Regions from separate parts of the Homo sapiens genome. Here region 2 is linked to region 1. The links are contacts of gene promoters, found by promoter capture Hi-C in blood cells and fetal thymus (Javierre and others, 2016). All regions are on one chromosome and are shown on one strand. Each heading gives the region's core, a stretch centred on a gene start or on the middle of the fragment in contact. The rest is flanking DNA. Distances are from core to core; before and after follow the strand shown.

What was found. The method cuts DNA at HindIII sites, captures the fragments that hold promoters and counts their contacts. A CHiCAGO score of 5 or more calls a contact.
Region 2: the fragment with the promoter of ZNF749 here is called in contact with the fragment with the promoter of ZNF382 in region 1 in 4 of 17 cell types (non-activated CD4 T cells, activated CD4 T cells, total CD4 T cells and 1 more); the score reaches 20.8 in non-activated CD4 T cells.

Annotation. Positions count from the first base shown.
Region 1 is chr19:36,603,631-36,608,822 of GRCh38, reverse strand. It overlaps ZNF382 (zinc finger protein 382), which reads right to left and starts at 3,510. Exons shown (of 5, transcript NM_032825.5): 1 at 3,476-3,510; 2 at 1,201-1,271. It also overlaps a transcript of ZNF529 not described here. RefSeq lists enhancers at 3,059-3,118, 4,099-4,238 and a silencer at 3,479-3,538. The HindIII fragment of the contact is 5,073 bases long and covers 67-5,139 here.
Region 2 is chr19:57,431,450-57,437,190 of GRCh38, reverse strand. It overlaps ZNF749 (zinc finger protein 749), which reads right to left and starts at 1,866. Exons shown (of 3, transcript NM_001023561.4): 1 at 1,598-1,866. The coding sequence starts at 1,612. RefSeq lists enhancers at 1,302-1,351, 1,982-2,281. The HindIII fragment of the contact is 4,352 bases long and covers 1-4,144 here.

The DNA of each region.
Region 1 (5,192 bases), core at 2,261-4,760:
CTAGAAAGTGAAAATGGGAAACGGAAGAAAATGTAAGCTGGACCAAAGGAAGTAATGAGGTAAGCTTTGGAAATGTACTTTGTCTGTGGAACATACAGGTGGTGATAGCTACTGGAGGTTGAATATTCGGTTCTGACACTCTGGACAGAGGTCTAGAGTGGAGAGGGGTATTTGAGAGTCACTAGAATCACACTAAGTGTAGCCTTCAGAGTGAATCTGATTGTGCGTAGAGAAAAACGGACTGTGAAGAAGAAGAGAACCAATTAGCATCTGAGGAAAACCAGTATTTTAAAGGTTGGTGGATGAGCTAAAGAGGAATTTTCTGAAAGATATGAAAAGAGGACAAAGTACTGTTTGATCAACAATAGAATATTTCAAAAGTGGCCTGGCATATGGATTTCCTTCTCCTGCACCCGCAAATAAAAAATTAGAAGAAACTAAAAAGAAAATAACAAATCTCTAACAGCATTGGAATACTGGAAAGGTTTTCACTGGCAGCCCACAATTTGTAGGAATGGCTAGCAGACATGAATGAAAAAAGATCAGAGAGGAGGAACATAAAACGTGTTTCCTTTACAAGCCTGCAATCAAATTGCTATCCTAAACACCTCACAAAGCAGGACATCTTTCCAGAAACTAATGCTGGGATCTACCACTTCTATTTCCCAACGTACCATTGCAAAACCTAGGCTAGCGGAGATCATCAAGGTTTTTCCACGTCTGCTCCATGACTACTCACAGCTTAGGTCTCAAATCAGCATCAGGACAAGTTAAATTCATTCAAGCCATATATTCCCATTTAAATCAAGACAATACCTTTCTATTCCAGCAGTTTGTTTGTGAGAAGACTGAGAAAGGAGATGATGAATGATATACCCAATGAATATGTACAACCAGAAGGTACACTTGGGGAAGGCTTAAGTTGATTTGGTTGGAATGGAGAAATTGTGAACAGGGCTGGATACAGGGTGAGGCAGGTGAGGCACCTAGAATGCAAAATTTAGGAGGGCACAGCCCTGAGGGTACCCCTTAAATATTTCACCTCATGCCACTTGCCTGCCTCAGCCTAATCTGGCCCTGACTGAAGACTAATTTCATGGAAGCAAATCCCAATATCAGGGAAGGTTAAAGGACAGTGAAGCTCATGTTCATACACCATGAAAAAAAGTTATTTCAGAAAGAGAGGAAACATCATCTCACCTGAGACATGGCTTTGAGATTTCTAGATGAACTTTCTCTTTTGAGCTCCTCTTTTGGAAAAAGAAACAGTCCTGAGAAAGCAAAGATGGAGGATATACGTATGTGAGACCATACTTGACTCAGAACTCCCAGAATTAACTCAGTTAAATCTGCATGAATGTTCACTATTTCAGCACTTGTCCACCCTGTGTACCCTTCAGATGTCCAGGATGGTAGTTAGTGGGAAAACAGACAAATCAGGCTCCCTCACAAACACCAGAAACCCAGTCTCTTGGTAAAGTATACAGGATTCTGGGGAACCTGTTTTAGCTTGAAGAGAGGGAACACTGTGTTTTTCCCTCTGCAGCTCTGCCTTCCATCTACCTCTAACCACAGGTTTACTGTGTATTTCCAAACGGTTCTTCTTGGACTTTTTGCCAATTTACACTGATAGTAGTGGATGAGAATACCTTCCCAAGCCCTGATGAAGACAGTTGACAACTTTTAAATCTTTGCCTATCTGGTCTATGTTGTAGTTGAGAATAATCTTTTTTTTTTTTTTTTTTGAGACAGAGTTTCACTCTTGTTGCCCAGGCTGGAGTGCAATGGTACAATCTTGACTGACCGCAACCTCCACCTCCCGGGTTCAAGCGATTCTCCTGCCTCAGCCTCCTGAGTAGCTGGGATTACAGGCATGCACCACCATGCCCGGCTAATTTTGTATTTTTAGTAGAGATGGGGTTTCTCCATGTTGGTCAGGCTGGTCTCGAATTCTCGATCTCAGGTGATCTGCCCACCTTGGCCTCCCAAAATGCTGGGATTACAGGCATCAGTCACTGCACCAGGCCCGCAAAATAACTATTTTAATTACTACAGTGAGACTGGACTTATTAAAAATCTATCAAATACTTTTTATTATCTTAGCAAGCCTAAGGGAGTAGGAAACCTCACTCATATACAAGTGTTGAAAGTGGTAGTTATGCCAGGCACAGTGGCTCACACCTGTAATCCCAGTACTTTGGCAGGCCGAGGGGGCGGGGGGAGGGGATCACTTGAGGTCAGGAGTTCAAGACCAGCCTGGGCAACATGGTGAAACCCCATCTCTACTAAAAATACAAAAACTAGCCGAGCGTGGTGGCACAAGCCTGTAGTCCCAGCTACTCAGGAAGCTGGGGCAGGAGAATCACTTGAACTTCAGAGGTAGAGGTGGCAGTGAGCAGAGATCATGCCACTACACTCCAGCCTGGGCAAAAGAGCAAGACCTTGTCTTAAAACAAACAAAAAACAACAACAAAAGTGGTAGTTATGGTAAAAAAAAAAAAAAAAAAAAAATTTCCTGCATGTCCCCAATGGAATGCTATTCATTTCAACATACTGGTTTTAGTTAATATGGTGTTTCCAGGAAATGAATCTGGGAATTATGAAAATCATCTCTTCCCCTCTGATACTGTTATCTCTATTTTATTTGCTAAATTGCTACTTAGTTACAGTTTTGGAGGCAGGCTTAATGGCTACTATTCAGATAATCAAGTCTTACATAACCAACTAGCCATGGTCATAACAGAGTTCCTCAATCATTCAAATATTTAGGTCACTAAGGCCACAAAACCACCAGAAGTAACAGTAGGTTACAAACACATGCAGAGTCACAGTCAATCAAACATCCTTCAGAGAACCACCAACCTACAGGCCCCACTTGTCATTCACAACCTCAGACAGCAGCTAACACGACTCCAGGCAGTCACAACCACACCTACAAATCACTTGCAATTCTCCACACTCAAAGGCAGTCTCAAATGCGACTCACACCTAATCTAAAAATAGACACACGCAGAGGAAACCTCGCGCAGCAACACTACTCCGTTCACTTTTCACACACAATCGGCCACAACATCCCAAAGAGAGGCAAGCACCTAAAATGCAGCAGGTTGGGCGCAGGAGGCCACCCCTATTCAGCGCGCGCCCGCGCGCGCGAACACACAGCGCCCGCTCCGCGCGGGGACCCGCCGCCAGCGATGGCGCTTCCGCGGGATCAGAACGGGCAAAATCCCCCTTCGCGGAGCTCGCTCCGGGTCACCCTCAAGGTCACGCCCATGGACCACGCCCGAGGCCCGGCTCGTACAGATCGGAGCGTCTGGATACCGCGGTCCCGGTTTCCTCCTCAGAATTTCCAGGCCCGGCTCGGACTCTTGGTTACCTCCCTGGCCTCCCCACCCGGTTCCGCGTCCTTAGACAGCTCTCCCGGAACGGAGCTCCCAGTGCCCTCCTTGGCCTCCTCAGCACCCCTGGCACCCACCAAGCCTCACCCCCGGCCCAGGGTGAGTCGTCTGCGCCTGCGCACTCGCGCGTGGGCCTGAGCTCCCAGGAGTCTCCGGGGCGGCCCGTTAGTCGCCGCGCGGTGCTAGCTGCCGGCGCTCCCCTCCGTTTGCACCCACGGCCGCCCTATTGCGGCTGGCACTACGCTTCTGCCAGGACCCCGGCTCCCTTTTCCGTTGACCTGGTGTTCGTTTTCCATGTGGTGAGTTGAGGTGACCCGGGTCTGGATGCGAGAAGAGCTCACGGCAGGGGACCTGGGTTCATGGGACGCGGAGAGGGTTTGTGGAGGCAGAAGCCCCAGGCCTGTGTGCAAGTCACCTGCTGGGGAGGGAGACTGTGTGATTGTGTTTGTGTGTGCCGTTCTGTGGCTGCGTCCGTGTGTGGTGGTGTGAGTGGGCGCGCCTGTGATGGTCCCGGGGGGGCGGGGGGTGTGCACAGCAGGGGGTGTGTGTGCACAGCAGGTGCACAGCCCGGGACAGCCCTGACTGTCCCCGATTGGGCCCGCGGGACTGAGTGGGGGCGGGGCCGTTTGTGTGACGGCGCTGAGCGGTGACTATGAATGTGTCATGCTGTTATCAGTGATCCTGTGACAGCGCTGTTGTGACCCACTGGAGACTGTGATCAAAACTGGCCTGGTGCAGCTTTTGTAGAGTTTGATTTCTGCAGTTCTGGGGCTCAGGAATACGTGGACAAGGTCCCCGTATGGCTCGATCTGTGTCTGTGAAGACTCTGAGACCTTCTGTTCTAAAGCATGGCCCCTGTCGCTTTCATAATGCATAATACACAGTGGCATGCAGCCTCGCCAACCTCTGGGGCCAATTTTAAGTTACGTGGTTTCTTGGAGTTTGTTATACTGGGATTTCTTTCACTGCCTCAGTCATTTCACCTTATAACCACGTTGCACAGTGTGCAGTCAAATGGCTATCGAAAAGAAAGTTGGATATTTGAGATCCAGAATGAAGTTTCCAACTGAAAAAGCACAGCCTTGTGTTTCACATGGACAAGGCTGTGTTCTGATATGCACAGCCTCGTGTTTGATATGGAGATGTTAGAGCTGGAATTGCTCCCAAGGCAAGGTTCTGGGAAGATATGATATTGAGGCCCCAGGAGTAGGATTCGTTTCTCCAAAGATTTTGTGTGTGTGTGTGAGATGGAGTTTTGCTCTTGTTGCCCAGGCTGGAGTGCAGTGGCGCAATCTCGGCTCATTGCAACCTCCGCCTTCCGGGTTCAAGCAATTCTCCTGCCTCAGCCTCCCGAGTAGCTGGGATTACAGGCATGCACCACCATGCCCGGCTCATTTTTGTATTTTTAGTAGAGACGGGGTTTCACCATGTTGGTCAGACTGGTCTCGAACTCCTGACCTCAGGTGATCCACCCGCCTCGGCTTCCCAAAGTGCTGGGATTACAGGCGTGAGCCACCGTGCCTAGCCAAAAGATCCCTTTTGGAAGCTCTGTGGGGGCAAGTTGAATATTGCAGATCCACAGCATTTTCATAGCTGTCTAAAGGAAATTATTGTGAATACAGAAACATTTCAGTCCCAGGCTTTGGTGAACCTGACTTTTCTTTATGAAGGGAAGAGTCAACAATATTCCAGTCTTTCTCATACTTCCATCTGGTCATATTCAGCATGGGTTATGGAAGCTTGCCGGTGGTGAAGAATGTGTTCTTATTTAGCCTGTCTGGGCTCCAAGAAAGG
Region 2 (5,741 bases), core at 617-3,116, about 21 Mb before region 1:
CACATCCCTGAACCTATGCCTGAGGACAACTGTTTTAAGACATTCTGTTCCTGACTAGCTGTCTCACCTATTATCTTCATGTTTCTGTAATCTATAATATAAATAAGAATGTATAGCCAATAAAAACTTATCTTATTTTAACATAAGTTATTGGTAAACAACTCAGAAACTGCTTCTTTTTTCCTTAAAAAAAAAGCAAACACTTGTCACTGTGGTAATTGAAGTGTATATTCAGGACAACTTGAATCTATGGTCCCAGATGGCTATCATCAACATGTGAACTTGAATAAACTCTCTTTAAACTAGATTCTGACTTGCTTGGTTATTTAAGATTGATATAGTTCCTTACTGTTTAAGTCAATTACCTGTTTTTACATCCCTAAGTTAATGAGTTGTAGGATGGGGCTGAGCAGTCAATCAGTTACTGGTCCGTTCAGCAAACAGGTCAGCCTGCCATATAATGCAGTAAAGGGAGCTTGCTGGAGGCCCTTAACTGTGGTGGAGGATGTGAGAAAGCCCTGCCCAGTTTTGGACCCAGTTGCTGCATGGCCTTATCTTGTTCCCTAAAGAGTGGCCCTCAGGGCCAGCTGAGTTAGAAGGGTGGAGTGACTACAATTATCTCATGCCTCAGTCTCTGTATTCCAGGGCAACTCCTTATCCATCCAGGCCTCTTTTTCAACAGAAACAGACCAGACTCTTAGCCCATATCTGCTCCCTTCTGCAGGGAGTATCAGAGATGCCCTCCCTACCATGGTCTTTCCTCCAAATCTGAGCCCTCCCCTACCTCAGCCCATATGAAAAAACGATGTAGGATTCTTCCTTCTCAATCTGATCCACAGGCCAACTTCTCAAGTGCACAACTTCTAACTCATTTAAAGCTCCAGGCCAGCTACCTTCCCTCACCTTTGGAAATTACGTCCACCTACCCATGTGATGTCGCCCAAAATCCAACCCAGGATCTTCTGTCTGAAACCCGCTCCTTAAGCTGATATCTCTAATTCCATTCTTTCAGATTTTTCAGGCCAAAACAAAACCTATGGAAGACACCATTCACTACCGACTTTCCCTCACAGCTATGTTTGATGCAGCAGGAAATCCTGTTGACCCTATCTCTGAGATCCATCCAGAGTCTCATCACATCTCCCCTCTACTGCAACCCCTCTGGCCCAGCCCTACCATAACTCAAGGGGTCTCCTCAGCGGTCCCCCTGCCCCCGTTCAACATCCTGTTTTCCCCAACTTTAAACTTCTAACTCTGGGCGTGACCCTCCCATTCGTCCTCCCTGCACAGCCCTCTATGGCTCTCTGCGGCTCCACTGCCCTTCCAGGGGAGACTCCGCCTCAACCTCTGCTCCTTGGAGACAAAGACGCTCGGGCTCCCCAGTGCCGCCCGTTCTGCAGTGCCTCCAAGCCCCAGAGACGTGTCGGTCTCCGACGGGAGCTCCCCCGCCTCATCGCACCGCAGTCCCAGTCCCGGGCACCCCACACAAGAACGCCCCTCTCTTAGAGACACAAGGGCCTAACCTGCAGGGCGGCTCCTTGGGACTTCAGCACTGGGAGGAGGGGTTGGGCGGGGCGGCCTGGGACGCTGCACGCACCTCGGTCAGGTTCATCGGCGCGGCCTCCTCCAGTCCACCCAGGGAAGAGCGGGGCGGGAACGGCGGTCACCTGGACGCTGACGGAGGCAGGGGCGCCTGCAGCCGACTCAGCCGATCCGCACTCTAGCCTCTGTGTAGAAGGAACACCGCTTCTCGCGTTTTTCCGCTCTTTCACCTCAGTCCCGACCCAGAGCTCTGGGACCCTCTAAATCAGTGAACAGATCCCTAGGTAGCCATGCTAACGCAACCATGAGGGCGCCGCCAGAAGTCCCGCCCACACAATTGAGACCTCATTAGTCGTCTCTCTGCTAGACCAATGGCTACACTCGCTGCCCTGCCCCCGCAGTGTCTTCTGGGTAATGTAGTTCTCACGTTGCTGCCTGTGTCGCCCGCAGTGTCTTCTGGGTAATGTAGTTCCCACGCTGCTGCCTGCCTCGCCTCACAATGCTGGGCGCGCGGACCTTACGGAAAAAAGCTGGAGGCTCCTGGAGGAGCGTTAAGAAATGCAGTTCCGGGGCTCTTAAGGACGTGGAGGGGCTTTGCTGACTCCTAAACTGCAAGTAACCAGATTTTCCCGGAGAGCAGTCTAGGACAAGTCTGAGAAATATTTCAGAGACCTGTCGTTTCAGATTCTCTGAAGCACAGCAAGTCCCGAAAGGAAGAACATCAGAAGCGACATGGCTGACCATAATGAACTGGTCCTCCATTCATAGCGGTCAGCTCTTTTGTGCTTGTCAAGTACACACATACTGAGGCTCTGGAGACTTTTTTTTGATCGTTAGTGTGCTTCTGTTGGGACAAGAAAGAAAAGACCCACACAGGATGTGATGGAGAGTTGAAGGAGGAATATCTTTCTGTCGACGAAAAGGGTGGAACTTTGTGAAATAGTTGAAGAGATTTATTCTGAGACAAATATGAGTGACTAATGGCCCATGACACGGCTCCAAGATATCCTAAGAACATATGCCCAGGGTGGCCCATCTACAGCTTGGTTTTAACAATTTAGGAAGACGTAAGACATCAATCAATACATGTAAAATGTACATTGGATTCCTCTGGAAAGGCGCAACTGGAAGGGAGGGGCGGGGCTTCCAGGTCAGGTGGGTTCAAAGATTTTCCGATTGGCAATTGGTTGAAAGAGTTTGTATCTAAAGACCTGGAATCAGTAGAAATGGTTGTCTGGGTTAAGGGGTTGTGGGCCGGGCGTGGTATCTCACGCCTGTAATCCCAGCACTTTGGGAGGCCGAGGTGGGCGGATCACCTGAGGTTGGGAGTTCGAGACCAGCCTGACCAACATGTAGAAACCCCATCTCTACTAAAAATACAAAATTAGACGGGCATGGTGGCACATGCCTGTAATGCCAGCTACTCGGGAGGCTGAGGCAGGAGAATCGCTTGAACCCGGGAGGCGGAGGTTACGGTGAGCCGAGATCTCGCCATTGTACTCCAGCCCGTGCAACAAGAGCGAAACTCCGTCTCAAAAACAAAAAAAGACAAGGGGTTGTGAAGACCAAGGTTATATCATGCAGATGAAGCCTCCAGGTAGTCTTATAAGGCCTTATGATAAGGCCTCAGCTCCTGAGCTAAAGCTATCTTCCCACCTCAGCCTCTAGAGCAGCTGGGACTGTAGGTACAGGACACCGTCCCTGGCTTTATTCAGCTTTTTACAATGCACTACAAAAAGTCGGCATTTAGAGCTATTTTTCTCTCACTGCAATTGAGTAGCAGTGAGAGAAAAATTGAGTAGCAATAGTATTGCCATCAGGTGGTGGCAATACTACCTGAAAACCATGCCCCCAACAAATGAAGATTTGGATAATGCCTTATGGTCTCTTCTGCAGGATTAGTGAAGGAAGAACAAAGAAAAGACCAAAAATTAAAACCCATTCTCTTTATATTCAGAAAAGGAAAGGGCTATTTTTTGGCCAAAGCGTTACAATTTAGTTTGCCAACCAGTTTAAAAAAAAAAAAAAAAGGAAAAATTAACTCTGCCCAACTGAAGGTCTGGCAAAAACAAACCTTTGAAAGGGTTGTGGGAAATTAATGAATATTAAACTAATTTTCAACATAACCAGTTAAAAATAAGAAATCCCACTAACGTGGATAGTTCCTTATTTAGGTGTGAGAAATTTGCTATACAAATGGACAACGGCTACACCAAATATAAAAATTGACTCTGACCCATAATCTACACCAACCCATTCAGAAATCTAATGTGGTATCTACAGTAACCACTCCCAAGTCAGAATACTATGTCTAGCAACAAGGCCAGGAAGCCAGACAACATCCCACATAACAACTCGCTTAAAATGGCTAAGACATGACTAAGAACTGACAGCTTTCTAATTGTTGCCCATATGTTCAACTTAGGACCAACTGGAGAAAGTCAGTGCATCACTAGCCAATCACATAGGATGTCAACCTTCTAAATAACCCCTTCACACACACACACACACACACACACACACACACACACACACACTCCTCAAGACTATAGCCTCCAGTCATGGCATACCTAATACTTTACCTTTTATCTACTATGAAGCTTTTTACACCTCTGCTTGCCTTTCAAGCTCTGCTGAGTGCAAGAGATTGTGGATGACTCCTTTACTACGGTGTGGTCTGATTTAATAGGCTATGTTTGTTCTCATTTGGGTCTTCATTTATTTCCAAGTTGTCTGTTTGCAGTCCATGAATGCTACCATTAAGCATACTTCTTACTAATGAAGGTGCAGTGAACAAAGGATTGATATAATTAGATGTGACCATTGTAGAAATTATGTTACAATGTATCATACTTACAGAGGTCCCAGTGAAATAACGTCTAACCTGTTCATCACCATGGGCCATAGTCATCAAACAGGTATAGTAACCACAGAGGTCCTTTATGCTTTGCTCTTCACACCTTGTCAAATCCATGATGACATGTTAAGTTAGCAACAAGTTTGAACACTACTGTCTTTGCACTGGGTTTCTTGGCTATTTAGACTCTGTTTAGTCCCCCCCACCTTTTTTTTTTTTTTTTTTTTTTTAAGACAGAGTCTCACTCTGTTGCCCAGGCTGCAGTGCAATGGCAGGATCTCAGCTCACTGCAACCTCCACCTCCCAGGTTCAAGCAATTCTCCTGCCTCAGCCTCCCGAGTAGCTGGGACTACAGGCTCGTGCCACCACACCTGGCTAATTTTGTATTTTTAGTAGAGACATTGGCCAGGCTGGTTTCGAACTCCTGACCTCAGGTGATCTGCCTGCCTCAGACGCCCAAAGTGCTAGGATTATAGGTGTGAGCCACCGCGCCCCGCCTCCTTTTTTTTTTTAATTGGCTCCCGTGACATTGCCATCCTTGATAGTATCACACCATTTCTTTTCATCTCTTTTTGCTATCTTATATGTAACAGTTTAGTGATGTACTTTCTTAAAGCATTGTCATGAAGAGGATAATAATAGGGTAAAACTCAAGCATAGGCTGGGCGCGGTGGCTCATGCCTGTAATCCCAGCCTTTTGGGAGGCCGAGGCAGGCAGATCACCTGAGGTCCGGAGTTCGAGATCAGCCTGACCAGCATGGAGAAACCCCATCTTTACTAAAAACTCCATCTTTACTAAAAAATACAAAATTGGCCAGGCATGCGCCTATAATCCCAGCTACTCGGGATGCTGAGGCAGGAGAATTGCTTGAATCCAGGAGGCAGAGGTTGCAGTGAGCCAAGATCACGCCATTGCACTTCAGCCTGGGCAACAAGAGTGAAACTCCGTTAAAAAAACAAAAACAAAAAAAACTCAAGCATAGGCTCTAGTGACTTGTTTCAGCTAATATCACAGACCAAGGGTTTTCTGATTCTCAACAGACTGGTGACCATTTGGACAGACTTTGCTTTGGGTCACTGATAAAATGGGATAAGATTCTCTTATCTTCTTTTTCTTTTTTTTTTTTCTTTTTTGTCCAGAGAATTAGGCATTCATTCAGAAAGAGTATTCTCAGATTTTCTGCATGCTGAGGTGTGAAGATTGTCGTGTTCTTGTGGGGAAGTAGCCACCTATCATGCTGTAGAACCAGGCCTAAGGTACATAATCATTACACTCCTCTCAGACAGTGCCAGCACTTATTGGATCGTCTAAATTGAAATCGTCTCCTTTCCAGGAAAGTCT